Regions from separate parts of the Homo sapiens genome. Here region 1 is linked to region 2. Evidence: promoter capture Hi-C in human tissues and cell types (Jung and others, 2019). All regions are on one chromosome and are shown on one strand. Each heading gives the region's core, a stretch centred on a gene start or on the middle of the fragment in contact. The rest is flanking DNA. Distances are from core to core; before and after follow the strand shown.

What was found. Contacts are between HindIII fragments. The study calls those that stand out against the background at their distance.
Region 1: a contact is called between a fragment that was not itself captured here and the fragment with the promoter of DNAH3 in region 2, in 1 of the 25 tissues and cell types used here (lymphoblastoid cells).

Annotation. Positions count from the first base shown.
Region 1 is chr16:22,576,670-22,583,117 of GRCh38, forward strand. LOC112268175 (a long non-coding RNA gene) reads right to left here. Exons shown (of 4, transcript XR_002957911.2): 3 at 6,310-6,432; 4 at 795-990. It also overlaps the pseudogene OTOAP1. Among named protein-coding and RNA genes, the nearest start is that of LINC02890, 34 kb to the right of the region's middle. RefSeq lists an enhancer at 5,513-6,013. The HindIII fragment of the contact is 3,211 bases long and covers 811-4,021 here.
Region 2 is chr16:21,147,171-21,153,314 of GRCh38, forward strand. It overlaps DNAH3 (dynein axonemal heavy chain 3), which reads right to left and starts at 3,676. Exons shown (of 62, transcript NM_001347886.2): 1 at 3,581-3,676; 2 at 3,120-3,364. The coding sequence starts at 3,149. RefSeq lists an enhancer at 5,838-6,132. The HindIII fragment of the contact is 16,051 bases long and covers 1-6,144 here.

The sequences.
Region 1 (6,448 bases), core at 1,166-3,665, 1.4 Mb after region 2:
GCTCCTGTGGTGAGTGGCCTGAGCACATCGTCCTGTGTTGCCCCAAGCAGCTGGCCAACGTGTGTAGAGACAGGATGCTCCAGATGGTGGGACACCGTTCCCTGGATCCAGACCCTCATCTAGGGCAGGGAAACCCTGGGGCCTTGATGGTGAAAATGCACCCCAAATGAAAAATAATTATTAAAAATGATCTTGCAAATTATTTTTAATTTTTTTAAATTTTAATTTTCGTTAGTACATAGTAGGTATATATATTTATGGGGTACATGAGATGTTTTGATACAGGCATGCGATGTGTAATAATCACATCATGTAAAATGGGGTATCCATTACCTCAAACCTTTATCCTTTGTGTTACAAACAATCCAATTGTACTCTTTCAGTTATTTTAAAATGTGCGATTAAATTACTATTGACTATAGGGTCGGGTGCAGTGGCTCATGCCTGTAATCCCAGCACTGTGGGAGGCCGAAGCAGGTGGATCACCTGAGGTCAGGAGTTCAAGACCAGCCTGGCCAACATGGTGAAACCCCATCTCTATAAAAATACAAAAATTAGCTGGACATGGTGGTGTGCGCCTGTAATTCCAGCTACTCGGGAGGCTGAGGCAGGAGAATCGCTTGAACTGAGGAGCCAGAAGTTGCAGTGGGCAGAGACCATGCCACTGCTCTCTAGCCTGGGTGACAGAGTGACGTTATCTCAAAAAAAAAAAAAATTACTGTTGACTATAGTCATCCTGTTGTGCTATGGAAAAGTAGGTCTTACTCATCTTTCTGTTTTTTTTGTACCCGTTAACCATCTGCCTCCTCCCCACCAACTCTCCCATTACCCTTCCCAGCCTCTGTTCACTCTCCTTCTACTCTATCTCCATGGGTTTAATTGTTTTGATTTTTGATCTTGCAAATTCTTAAGCCCACTCATCTCCTCAGCAGGAAGCCCTTCTCTGTCCCATTGCAGCCTCTTTTGTTTTCCAGCTTGGAGACAGAGAACCTGTGGGGAAGGAAGGGTGTTTTCTGTTAACAGCACGAGACCCTTACAATCAAGTTGCTGCCCTCACTTTAGAGAGATACCAGAGAGAGGCAGTGCAAGAAAAGGCACCATTTTAGCCAGGGCCTCATCTAGTTTCTACTTGGGCTTAATTTCACTTTCTTGAAGCTACAGGCTACATTGGATTTCTCCTCTACGATATTTAGCAGAGCTGAAATAAATGAATCCCTGAGCAGAAGCCAATATTCTTGCCTGATTGCTGGGACTAATTGATGTTTTGGTGGGCATTGCATTGGTTGGAAGTTAAAACATTTAACATGGCTCAACGTTAAATCAATTTAAAAATACATTTTTCAGGTGTCTTCCATTTCCTTGGGACTCAGCTGAATGGATGGCTGTGAAGTTATCATTAAACTCTCAAAATATTCCCTGTTTTTGGTGGAGATGGTGGTGGCTCTTCTGGTTTTAAGTTGCTCTGGGCTTTGGGGAATTGGTTGAAATAAAAAATAAAAGTACATTGGGTAAGTCAGTCACTGATGTGATCCTGGCGGGCTGAGAAAACTCCACCCACTGGCTCGATCCTGCTAGAATGAAGTTACTTCCGGGAATTGCCAGGATGCTTTTAGCCTTAGGTTTAGGAAGTCAGGGCTCAGGGAAGGGGGGCAGCAGTGGTGTTTGCAAACACCTTCTCGAAGACAGCATCACAGCTGCTTGTCAGGGCGTTTCCCTGGTGGCATCCTAGGTGCTTCTGTTCTGCCATCAGCACACCTTGGGTTCTCCTCCTAGTCACCTATCCACAGTAGACATCTCATCTGGAGGTAAGAAAACTGCATGTTTCCGAAAATCTTGGTGTCCCTAAAAGGCGGTGGATTTTACAAAGCGTCATGAGTAGGTGTTGCAGAGGCTGGAGTGTATTTTCAGAGGTCACGTGGTTTTATAGAAAACTAAGACTGCAGTGTGAAAGGTGTGATCCTGTGATCCTGCACGTGTTATTTAATGTCTGACTTGGTTTTCCTTCATCCTGGCAGGGAAGTAGCAGCAAATGGGTGCTCCTCAGGTACAGAACATTAATTTTTTTTGTTTTTGTTTTTGAGATGGAGCCTCACTCTGTCACCCAGGCTGGAGTGCAGTGGCATGATCTTGGTTCGCTGCAACATCCACCTCCCGGGTTCAAGTGATTCTCCTGCCTCAGCCTCCTGAGTAGCTGGGATTACAGGCATGCGCCACCATGCCCAGCTAAGTTTTGCATTTTTGGTGGAGACGGGATTTCACCATGTTGGCCAGGCTGGTCTTGAACTCCTGGCCTCAAGTGATCCGCCTGCCTTGGCCTCCTAAAGTGCTGAGATTACAGGCATGAGCCACCGTGCTTGGCCCAGAGCATTAATTTTCTTACAAACAGCAGCCCCCAGTTTAGCTGGGCTGGACCAGCTGCTTGGAGAGGGGTTCTTGATGAAAACCTGTCTGCACAGACTCCCATGAGGATGTCCTTGGATCTCAATCGGTATTCTCACTTTCTGCCAGTCTTGGATTATCCTGGACAAGAAAAAGCAAACAGTAACAAAATCCACTCTCCTGCGAGTCAGGCTTCACACTGCCGACTTCATGTAGCTTTTGTATTTCATCTCTCTTTCTGGTCATTTGTTTCTGATCTAATTCCTGTTTCTTTCCTCCCATCTTGAATAATGACTCCCATTACAGAGGTCTGACTCTGGGTCAGGCTGTCTAAGGGCTTTCACTGTGTCATTAGCTCATTTCATTGTGGCCATGCTCCTGCCAGGTAGGCACTGTTAGGATTCCCATTTACCAGATGAGGGGACTGAGTGTGAGAGAGGTTAAGGAGCTCTTGTCTAAGCTTCCCAGATAGGACAAATTTGAATCCTGACTTCTTTATCTCTGTACTGTGCTGCCTCCTGGACGGGTGTCCTTTAACTTCTCTAATAAGTCAGATCAGAGAGAGATTCTGTAAATCCCTTCACCTCCTCCTCTGGCGGGAGGACAGTTTGCCTCACAGCACATATAATTGGTGATCATCCCAGGCAGGAAGACAAATCTAGCTGATGCCCTGCAGGAACCCCAGGGTCTCAGGTTGAAATGCACCGTCCTTTGCATGCAGGAAAGCAGCAGGTCACGCTGGCAGGTGCTGCTCCCATTCACCTTTCAATGTCAGCTCTCCTGATGGATTTCTAGCCTCCATCCTTCACAGCCCTCCTCAGCTGGAGGCAGGGATCACTGGCACTTGTATGCAGATCACAGCATGTTGGCTCTGGTTCTTATCGGTCAGGACCTGTGCCATTCTGGCTTCTAAATTTTTTGAATATCACCCCAGTTAGATCCTTTTGCAGAATCTCTACCTTCAGGCCCGCTCCAGACACCAAGCCTGGCTTGATGGGGGCTGCAACTTCAGCCTAACATCCAGTGGAACTTACAATGAAGTTATCCTCTCTAGTCCTGGTACCCAGGGGTTCAGCCACAGCTGCTTGTGATGGGCTGTACTACCAAACAGAGGTTACTGTGTCTTGGGGCATGTGTGTGTTTACTCTGCTTTACTGAAGTCATGGAAGAGAGTTACAACACAGTAAACAACTTAATATTCAATACTAGGCATTTTTTGTCCTTAAAAGTCCTTTGCCCACTTTTGCCTCTTGAGGGGCCTTTAGAAATATTGGGCCAGGCCTGGTGGCTCATACCTATAATCTTAGCACTTTGGGAGGCTGAGGCAGGAGGATCACTTGAGGCCAGGAGTTCATGTCCAGCATGGGCAACATAGGGAAATCCTGTCCCTACCAAAAAAAAAGAAAAAAAGGCTGGGGGCAGTGGGTGGGTCACTCCTGTAATCCCAGTATTTTAGGAGGCTGAGGCGGGCAGGTATCTGAGCTCAGGAGTTCAAGACCAGCCTGGGCAACATGGTGAAACCTCGTCTCTAGTAAAATACAAAAAATTAGCTGGGAGTGGTTGCACGTGCCTGTAGTCCCAGCTACTTGGGAGGCTAAGCAGGAGAACTGCTTGAACCTGGGGGGTGGAGGTTGCAGTGAGCTGAGATTGCACCACTACATCTGAGTCTGGGCAACAGAGTGAGACTCTGTCTCCAAAAAAAGAAAAATTAGCCCCCGCCTGGTGGCACACACCTGTAGTCCCAGCCACTCAGGAGGCTGAAGTGGGAGGATCAGTTGAGCCCAGAATTTTGAGGCTGCAATGAACTATGATTGTGCCACTGCACTCCAGCCTGGGTGATGGAATGATCTATATCTATCTGTATATGACATATATATCTCTCATATATGAGAGATATATATGTCATATACAGAAAAGCGTAATACAAACTACCTATGGTATTGGAAGAATCCCAGGAATCGTTGGAGGTCTTGAATGAATTTGAAGAGGGTACTCAGTTCAAGACTACTTTAAGACACACATTTTGTAGATGTCCCAACTAGACACTGTGTGGCCTGGGAATATAGATGTAGATAGATATCTATATCTGTATATGAGATATATAGCTCTCATATCTTATATATATGAGATATATTTCATATATATAAGAAAATAATATATATGAGATACATATAACTCATGTATATGATAATATATCATATATAAGATAATATATGAGATATATATCAAAGATTATATTTAGATATATAATATATCTATATTATATTTAGATACATAAGCTATATATAATCTTATATATGATATATATTTCTTATAAATATATTATAACATAATATAATTGAAAAAAAGTAAACATTGCAGAATTCCCAGGCCACACAGTGTCTAGTTGGGACATCTACAAAGTGTGTGTCTTAAAGTAGTCTTGAACTGAGTACCCTCTTCAAATTCATTCAAGACCTCCAACGATTCCTGGGATTCTTCCAATACCATAGGTAGTTTGTATTACGCTTTTCTGTTGTCACTTCCCCGATTACTGATTGTTTCAGAAAGAGACATGGGCTTGGCTGATCCATGGAGATATCTGCAGCTTGCCAGCAGCTGAAGTCTTTATTTGCCTTTATCTCCGTTGTGGCCTCTGATGAGCCAGACTACAGAGATGCTGATGAAATCTGGGAGGCAATGGTGGAGGCTGTAGTTTCCCAGGAGAACTCTGGCCCTGGGGAATTCCTTCCAGTCTCTGAGTCCCTGTGGCACATCTCCATGTGTGGCGGACTAGGTGATTGCTCCTAGTGATTCTGCTTAGTTCCTTTATTAGAATTATAAGCTTTTTGCCATGTGACTTTGTAGTACATCTCAATAGGTAGAGTCTAATTCCTTGCCCTTCTAACTTTGGGCTTTGGTCATTGGAATGTGAGCAGACACATTTTCCCCCAGCAGAAGTTTTAAATGTGCTGCATGATTTGACTTGACCTCTTGGCAATTGCTTCTCATGTGAAGGGACATGTGGAGCAGACCTGAACTCAACCCAAACCTTGGAGCCAAGCTGAGCTCAGCAGAACCTAGCTGAGCTCAGCCAAGCCAAACCCAGTGTAATCACAGCCAACCTGAAGACTCAGAAGCAAGAAACAAATATTTGTTATAGGGATCTATTGGGATTTGAGAGCTATTTCTCTTTTTTTAAGTTATTGTTATTTTTTGAGATGGAGTCTCACTTTGTCACCCAGGCTGGAGTGCAGTGGAGTGATCTCGGCTCACTGCAACCTCTGCCTCCTGGGTTCAAGCACCACTAGTGCCTCAGCCTCCCGAGTATCTGGGATTACAGGCAGTGCCACCTTGCTTGGCTAATTTTTGTATTTTTTGGTAGAGACAGGGTTTCGCCATGATGGCCAGGCTGGTCTCAAACTCCTGACCTCAGGTAATCCACCCGCCTTAGCCTCCCAAAGTGCTGGGGTTATAGGCATGAGCCACCGTGCCAGGCCTAGGGAGTTCCTTGTTATTGTAGCAAAAGCTGTCTTATATATCATGTCATTAACATGCCCACCTTACACAGTGCTGGTCCCATTCTGATGACAGGAAGATGATACATTTTATCCTTTACCCTTACCATCATTTACTATGTACACTATGCCCATTTGTCAAGCTCTTCTGCCTCCAAAAAGTGCTATGGTACTTGATACCTAATAATGGTCTTTAACTTCTGTCATGCACCCATTTATTTCCCATCTTCAAGACCAAGGGTCCTAGAAATCACAGGAAAGCTGGGGTCAGAACTTATACTCATAACATGGTTGTTCCACCTACTTTGCCATGGCAGACTTTGTATCTCATGGCTCACTTAACTACTTCCCTTGAGCACTCACTGTTCTAACACTCATTTCCCCCAAATCTACAACTTAGCTTCTCTCCCTGGTGCAGTCAAGGCCCTTTTACCTGGAGTCTCCCAGAAGGATTTTCAGGTCATGTGCTATATTAGCTCATCCTTAGGGAAGAACGTTCCAATTGAAGAAGCCATCTGACTCTCCCCCAGGTGTGTGGTCATCTTCTTTGCTCATGCTGGAAGATGGAAGAC
Region 2 (6,144 bases), core at 2,426-4,925:
CCCTACCCTCAGGTATGATTAAAGGAGGTGACTTTAAAAACATTGACTCTTGCATTTTTTTTTTTTTGAGATAGTCTCTCACTCTGTCACCCAGGCTAGAGTGCAATGGTACGATCTTAGCTCACTGCAACTGCTGCTTCCCAGGTTCAAGCAATCCTCCTGCCTCAGCCTCCCAAGAAGCTGGATGGGTGCCCACCACCATGCCTGGCTAATTTTCATATTTTTAGTAGAGACGGGGTTTCACCACATTGGTCAGGCTGGTCTTGAACTCCTGACCTCAGGTGATCCACCTGCTTCGACCTTCCAAAGTGCTCGGATTACAGGCATAAGCCACTCCACCAGGTGGACTCTTGCATTTTCACATGTGCAAAATTCCAAAGAGAAATTCACTCAGGCAGTGGCACTGAATTTTCTGTGTATTTAACACACACATAAGCAACTCTTTATGATTCCTGCGAAAAGAAAAAGTGTTATTTCAACAATGTGGGTGTTGAGTACTCCATTCCAACCAGTGAGTGCATACTGTGGAGTGAGCCTCAGGTAAGGGTCAACTTGTGGCTCCCACAATCACTCTCAGATTCCAAGTGACCCTCCACCTCTCCTGAGCAGAGAAGAAAGTGACTACATTATTGAATGAAATCACATGTGTTTTTGTCTTAAGACTTAGCCCCTATATGCAAAACAACCACTTCACCTGGGACTAGTGATGGAGAAACTGCAACTTGTTCCAACACTAGAAGAAAAGCTGTTGGCCTGGACTTATTGAGAGGTGCTGCCGTTCAGCACTTTAAAGGTGGTTTGAGGGATTTTCAAGGGCAATTTTGACTCTCTGTGATTTTCACCTTAGGCATTGACTTTGGACTTAACTCCTATATAAGATGAGCCAACATCGTATCAGTGTGATTTATTTGGGTGTGCAAATTATGACATGCAAGATCACTGATGAGGGTGGGATGGGGCAGGGGGCATATGACTATTAGCTGTCCCTCTGCCCCCAACCCCTTAAAGATGACTCAAATTAACCATCATTATCTCTCCCGGAGCACCTACCTCATTAAATAACAACAGAAAAACAACAACCGCAGCAATACTATCTACCATTATTCCAAACGATTATGTGCCAGGTACTGTACAACCTCATGAGATTTTTTTCATACCCGCATTCTAGCTGAAGAAAATGAGGGTGAGAAGATAGGTAACACATCCTAGCCATGTAATTGGCCGGCTTGACTTCTAAGTCAGTGACTTATTTATTATTATTATTATTATTTATTTTTTTTTTTTGAGTCCAAGTTTTCGCTCTGTCGCCCAGGCTGGAGTGCAGTGACACAATCTTGGCTCACTACAACTGCAACCTCCACCCCCTAGGTTCGAGCGATTCTCCTGCCTCAGCTTCCTTACTGCATCATGCAAACTGACAGGGACGCTGTTCTCGGGATAATGAAGAAAGCAAACCGTGAGCATTTTGCAGAACACAATGGAAAGAGGGAGAACCTCTGTAGAAACAAATTAAACTAGGCTATGTCATAGGCTTGGACTAAAACAAATACACAAACAGTCATAAGTACGCTGATAGCAGAAAGCATCCCAGTCTGTCGATCAGGAACACATGGGGCACACACAACATGAGCAGATCTAGGCATCAATTGCAGAATGGGGCTAAAAGAGTTTTCCTGGCAATAAATGGCTAAGAATCCTCTGTGGCACCTTCAAGAGATCGAGATTCTCATAAGAACTAGCTGGTTGTGCAAAATTGTTTGTTAAAAATATGAATGCTTGGCCAGCCGTGGTAGCTAATGTCTATAATCCCAGCACTTTGGGAGGCCGAGGCGGGTGGATCACTTGAGGCCAGGAGTTCGAGACCAGCCTGGCCAACATGGAGAAATCCCGTCTCTACTAAAAATACAAAAATTAGCCAGGCGGTGGCGCACACCTGTAGTTCCAGCTACTCAGGAGACTGAGGCAGGAGAATCGCTTGAACCCAGAAAGCAGACGCTTCAGTGAGTGAAGATCACGCCACTGCACTCCAGCCTGGATAACAGAGACAAACTGTCTCAAAAAAAAAAAAAGAAAGAAAGAAAAAGAAAGAAAGAAATTAATGCTTAAATCTTCTCTTTGGTAAATTTCAAGGAGCTTTCACTTCAGAGCATATTGGCTTAGTTATTATCTACAAATCCACTTTAGTTTTACAAAGTTTCTATTTAAAATGCTCCTCTGGGCACTTCGCTGTATGGCAACCTGGTGATTCAACACAGATACAACAGAAATTCTGGAACTTAGATTGGGTAGAACTGTCACTTTGGGCAGCTTATTGCTGATTACACATGTTGTATGTATGTTCTTCATGGAGGCCATTCCCAAATGCTCGTCTGAGGACGTGCTACACCAGAATCACTCTGGTCTTAGATAAAAATATAGATTCCAGGGCCCCACTCCAAATCTTCTGGATCGGAATCTAGGAGTGGGGGACCAAGACTCTATGTTTTTAAGATGCTCCCCAGAATATTCTAATGTTCAGCCACAGTCAAAAACTGATGGTTGGAATATATGGTCTAATGGGCTTGGAAGGGAAGGAAAGGGAAGAACGGGTGTCTATTCCCGGATTTTTCACAGCAAAACTTGAAGATTTCCAAAAGTCTAATTCAGCAAAAATGATATTTCAAAGCAGACAACAAAAAAATGTGATGAATACACTTGTTCAGTCAAGGGCATCTAACATGCCAATTGGCCCTCTTCCCACATATTCCCAACACATTAAAAATACAGGTAAATCGGCCAGACACGGTGGCTCACACCTGTAATCCCAGCACTTTGGGAGGCTGAGGCAGGCGGATCTCCTGAGATCGGGAGTTCAAGACCAGCCTGACCAACATGGATAAACCCTGTCTCCACTAAAAATACAAAATTAGCCAGGTGTGGTGGCACATGCCTGTAATCCCAGCTACTCAGGAGGCTGAGGCAGGAGAATCACTTGAACCCAGGAGGCGGAGGTTGCAGTGAGCCGAGATCACACCATTGCACTCCAGCCTGGGCAACAAAGAGCAAAACTCTGTCTCAAAATAAAAAATAAAAAAAAAAAATACAGGTAAAACAAGAAACGTCTTAAAATTCACACCTACCTTCTGAGATGAGCAATCCATGTCACCCATGGTGTCCACTCTAATTGTAGCTATTTTTTTAAAATGAATAAAGAGCTTTCAGCTTCTCCAGGGATGTGCCTCTCCTATCCAGTTGGTCTGAAATTCACACTTCCTTATAGCATAATGGGGATGACACCAACAATGGAACTTTCCAGATGTTCTGAAAGCTCTGTTCATGAGGTTGCCTCTCTGAGGTCATAGACTTTGGCCCGCTGAGGAGTTCCCTGGTAAAAAAGGAGAGAAAGGGAAGCTAGAGATAAGGGGACAGCACTGGGTTTCTGCTGCGCTTTTGGCTCTGGTTCCTAGTCCCCCAGCGGTGGCCACGCTTCCTTTCCCTTGAGTGCTTCTCTCTTGGAAATTTTCCAGAAACACACTGAGTTCACTGCAGAGGAAAGACTGAAGCAGAGTTACACATTAATACAGAGAAGAGGGAGACTCACCCCTCCAAACAACATCCTGGCAGCCCGAACTGTTCTCCCTCCTCCTCCCTGGACTCTTAACACTGGCAGTGCTTGTATGCAGGCGCTGGGCACAGTAACCATGTCTCAGCGTCTGTTGCTAAGGGAAGGAGGGGCCTCTGCGGTGCCTACATACAAGACTGGGCATGACCTAGCTCTGTGAGCTGGTGTCTCCCTTTGCTGGAGGCCCAGGTGGGCAGCAGGAAGTGTTGGTGACAGAAGGGAACATGGGAAGGTGTTTAGCAATGTTCCAGGAATAACAGAGGCAACAGCAATAAAAGACCTTTGGAGACGTCGAAAAGCACAGAGTATGGTGGTTAAGTTCTTGGGATCTACAATTGGACAGGTCATACTTCAGATCCTACTCTTCTCATTAATTAGCTGTGTGGCTTGGCAAGTTGTTTAATCTCTCCAAGTGTCCTTTCCGTCTGTAAAATGGCAATAATGTGAGTCCCTACTTCATAGGGTTGCTTTGAAGGGTTAACGGGATAACGTGTACAGAGCGATTTGCATATAGTAGAAGGATAACTGATATTTTCCCAGTTTTTCCCCGTTTTTTTTTTTTTTTTTGAGACAGAGTCTTGCTCTGTTGCCCAGGCTGCAGTGCAGTGGCGTGATCTCAGCTCACTGCAAGCTCTGCCTCCCGGGTTCACACCATTCTCCTGCCTCAGCCTCCCACCAGTGCGCCCAGCTAATTTTTTGTATTTTTAGTAGAGACGGGGTTTCACCGTGTTAGCCAGGATGGTCTCAATCTCCTGACCTCGTGATCCGCCCACCTCGGCCTCCCAAAGTGTGGGATTACAGGTGTGAGCCACTGCGCCCAGCCCAGTTTTTCCCCATTTTAACACTAAGTCCTGCATCCTGGGAGCAATCTCAGTCCTGGGCAAACTGGGATAGTTTGATCACCCAACACAGTCAATGCTCTATAAATGTTGTGGCTAACATCAATATTACGATAAACACAGAAATACATGTGCACATACTCAAAAGTAACAATATTAGCTGCCGCCCGAATATTAAAAGCACATGTTCCATGGTCACTGTGAAGTTCTCTCAAAACCAAGTTAGACTTAATGAGTTTTTTGGGGGTGCCATGCTTGCATATCTTTTTTTTTCATTCAATTTCCCCCCAAACACCACGATATTCCCATTTTAAGGATAAGGAATCAAAACTGAGAGATATGGGCCAGGTATGGTGGTTCATGCCTGTAATCCCAGCACTCTGAAAGGCTGAGGTGGATGGATCACTTGAGGTCAGGAGTTTGAGACCAGCTTGGCCAACATAGTGAAACCCCATCTCTACTAAAAATACAAAATTAGCCGGGCATGGTGGTAGTCGCCTGTAATCCCAGCTACTTGGGGGGCTGAGGCAGGAGAATCGCTTGAACCTGGGAGGGAGGTTGCAGTGAGCACAGATCATGCCACTGCACCCCAGCCTGGGCAACAAGAGCGAAACTCCATCTCAAAAAAAAAGAAAAACAAACAAAAAAACTGAGAGATACATAACTTTCCTAAGTCGACTTGACTCATAAGTAGCACTGATACAATTGGAACCTGTCCTGATGACCCCGAGTCCACTGCTCTTTCCATAACCTACCTGTCCAGAACACAAACATTCCCGAGTTCCTATGAAAAGCATTGCATAGTGAGAGGTGACAGCGTGCTGGCAGTCCTCACAGCCCTCGCTCGCTCTCGGCGCCTCCTCTGCCTGGGCTCCCACTTTGGCGGCACTTGAGGAGCCCTTCAGCCCACCGCTGCACTGTGAGAGCTCCTTTCTGGGCTGGGCAAGGCCGAAGCCGGCTCCCTCAGCTTGCAGGCAGGTGTGGAGGGAGAGGCGCGAGCGGGAACCCGGGCTGCGCACGGCGCTTGCGGGCCAGCTGGAGTTCCGGGTGGGCGTGGGCTTGGCGGGCCCCGCACTGGGAGCAGCCAGCTGGCCCTGCCGGCCCCGGGCAATGAGGGGCTTAGCACCCCGGCCAGCGGCTGCGGAGGGTGTACTGGGTCCCCCAGCAGTGCTAGCCCACCGGCGCTGCGCTCCATTTCTCACCGGGCCTTAGCTGCCTTCCCGCGGGGCAGGGCTCGGGACTTGCAGCCCGCCATGCCTGAGCCTCCCACCCCCTCCGTGGGCTCCTGTGCTGCCCGAGCCTCCCCGACGAGCGCCACCCCCTGCTCCACGGCGCCCAGTCCCACCGACCACCCAAGGGCTGAGGAGTGCGGGCCCACGGCGCGGGACTGGCAGGCAGCTCCACCTGCAGCCCCGGTGCAGGAGCCACTGGGTGAAGCCAGCTGGGCTCCTGAGTCTGATGGGGACGTGGAGAACCTTTATGGCTAGCTCAGGGATTGTAAATACACCAATCAGCACCCTGAGTCTAACTCAGGGTTTGTGAATGCACCAATCGACACTCTGTATCTAGCTGCTCTGGTGGGACCTTGGAGAACCTTTATGTCTAGCTTGGGGATTGTAAATACACCAATCAGCACTCTGTATCTAGCTCAAGGTTTGTAAACACACCAATCAGCACCCTGTGTCTAGCTCAGGGTCTGTGAAT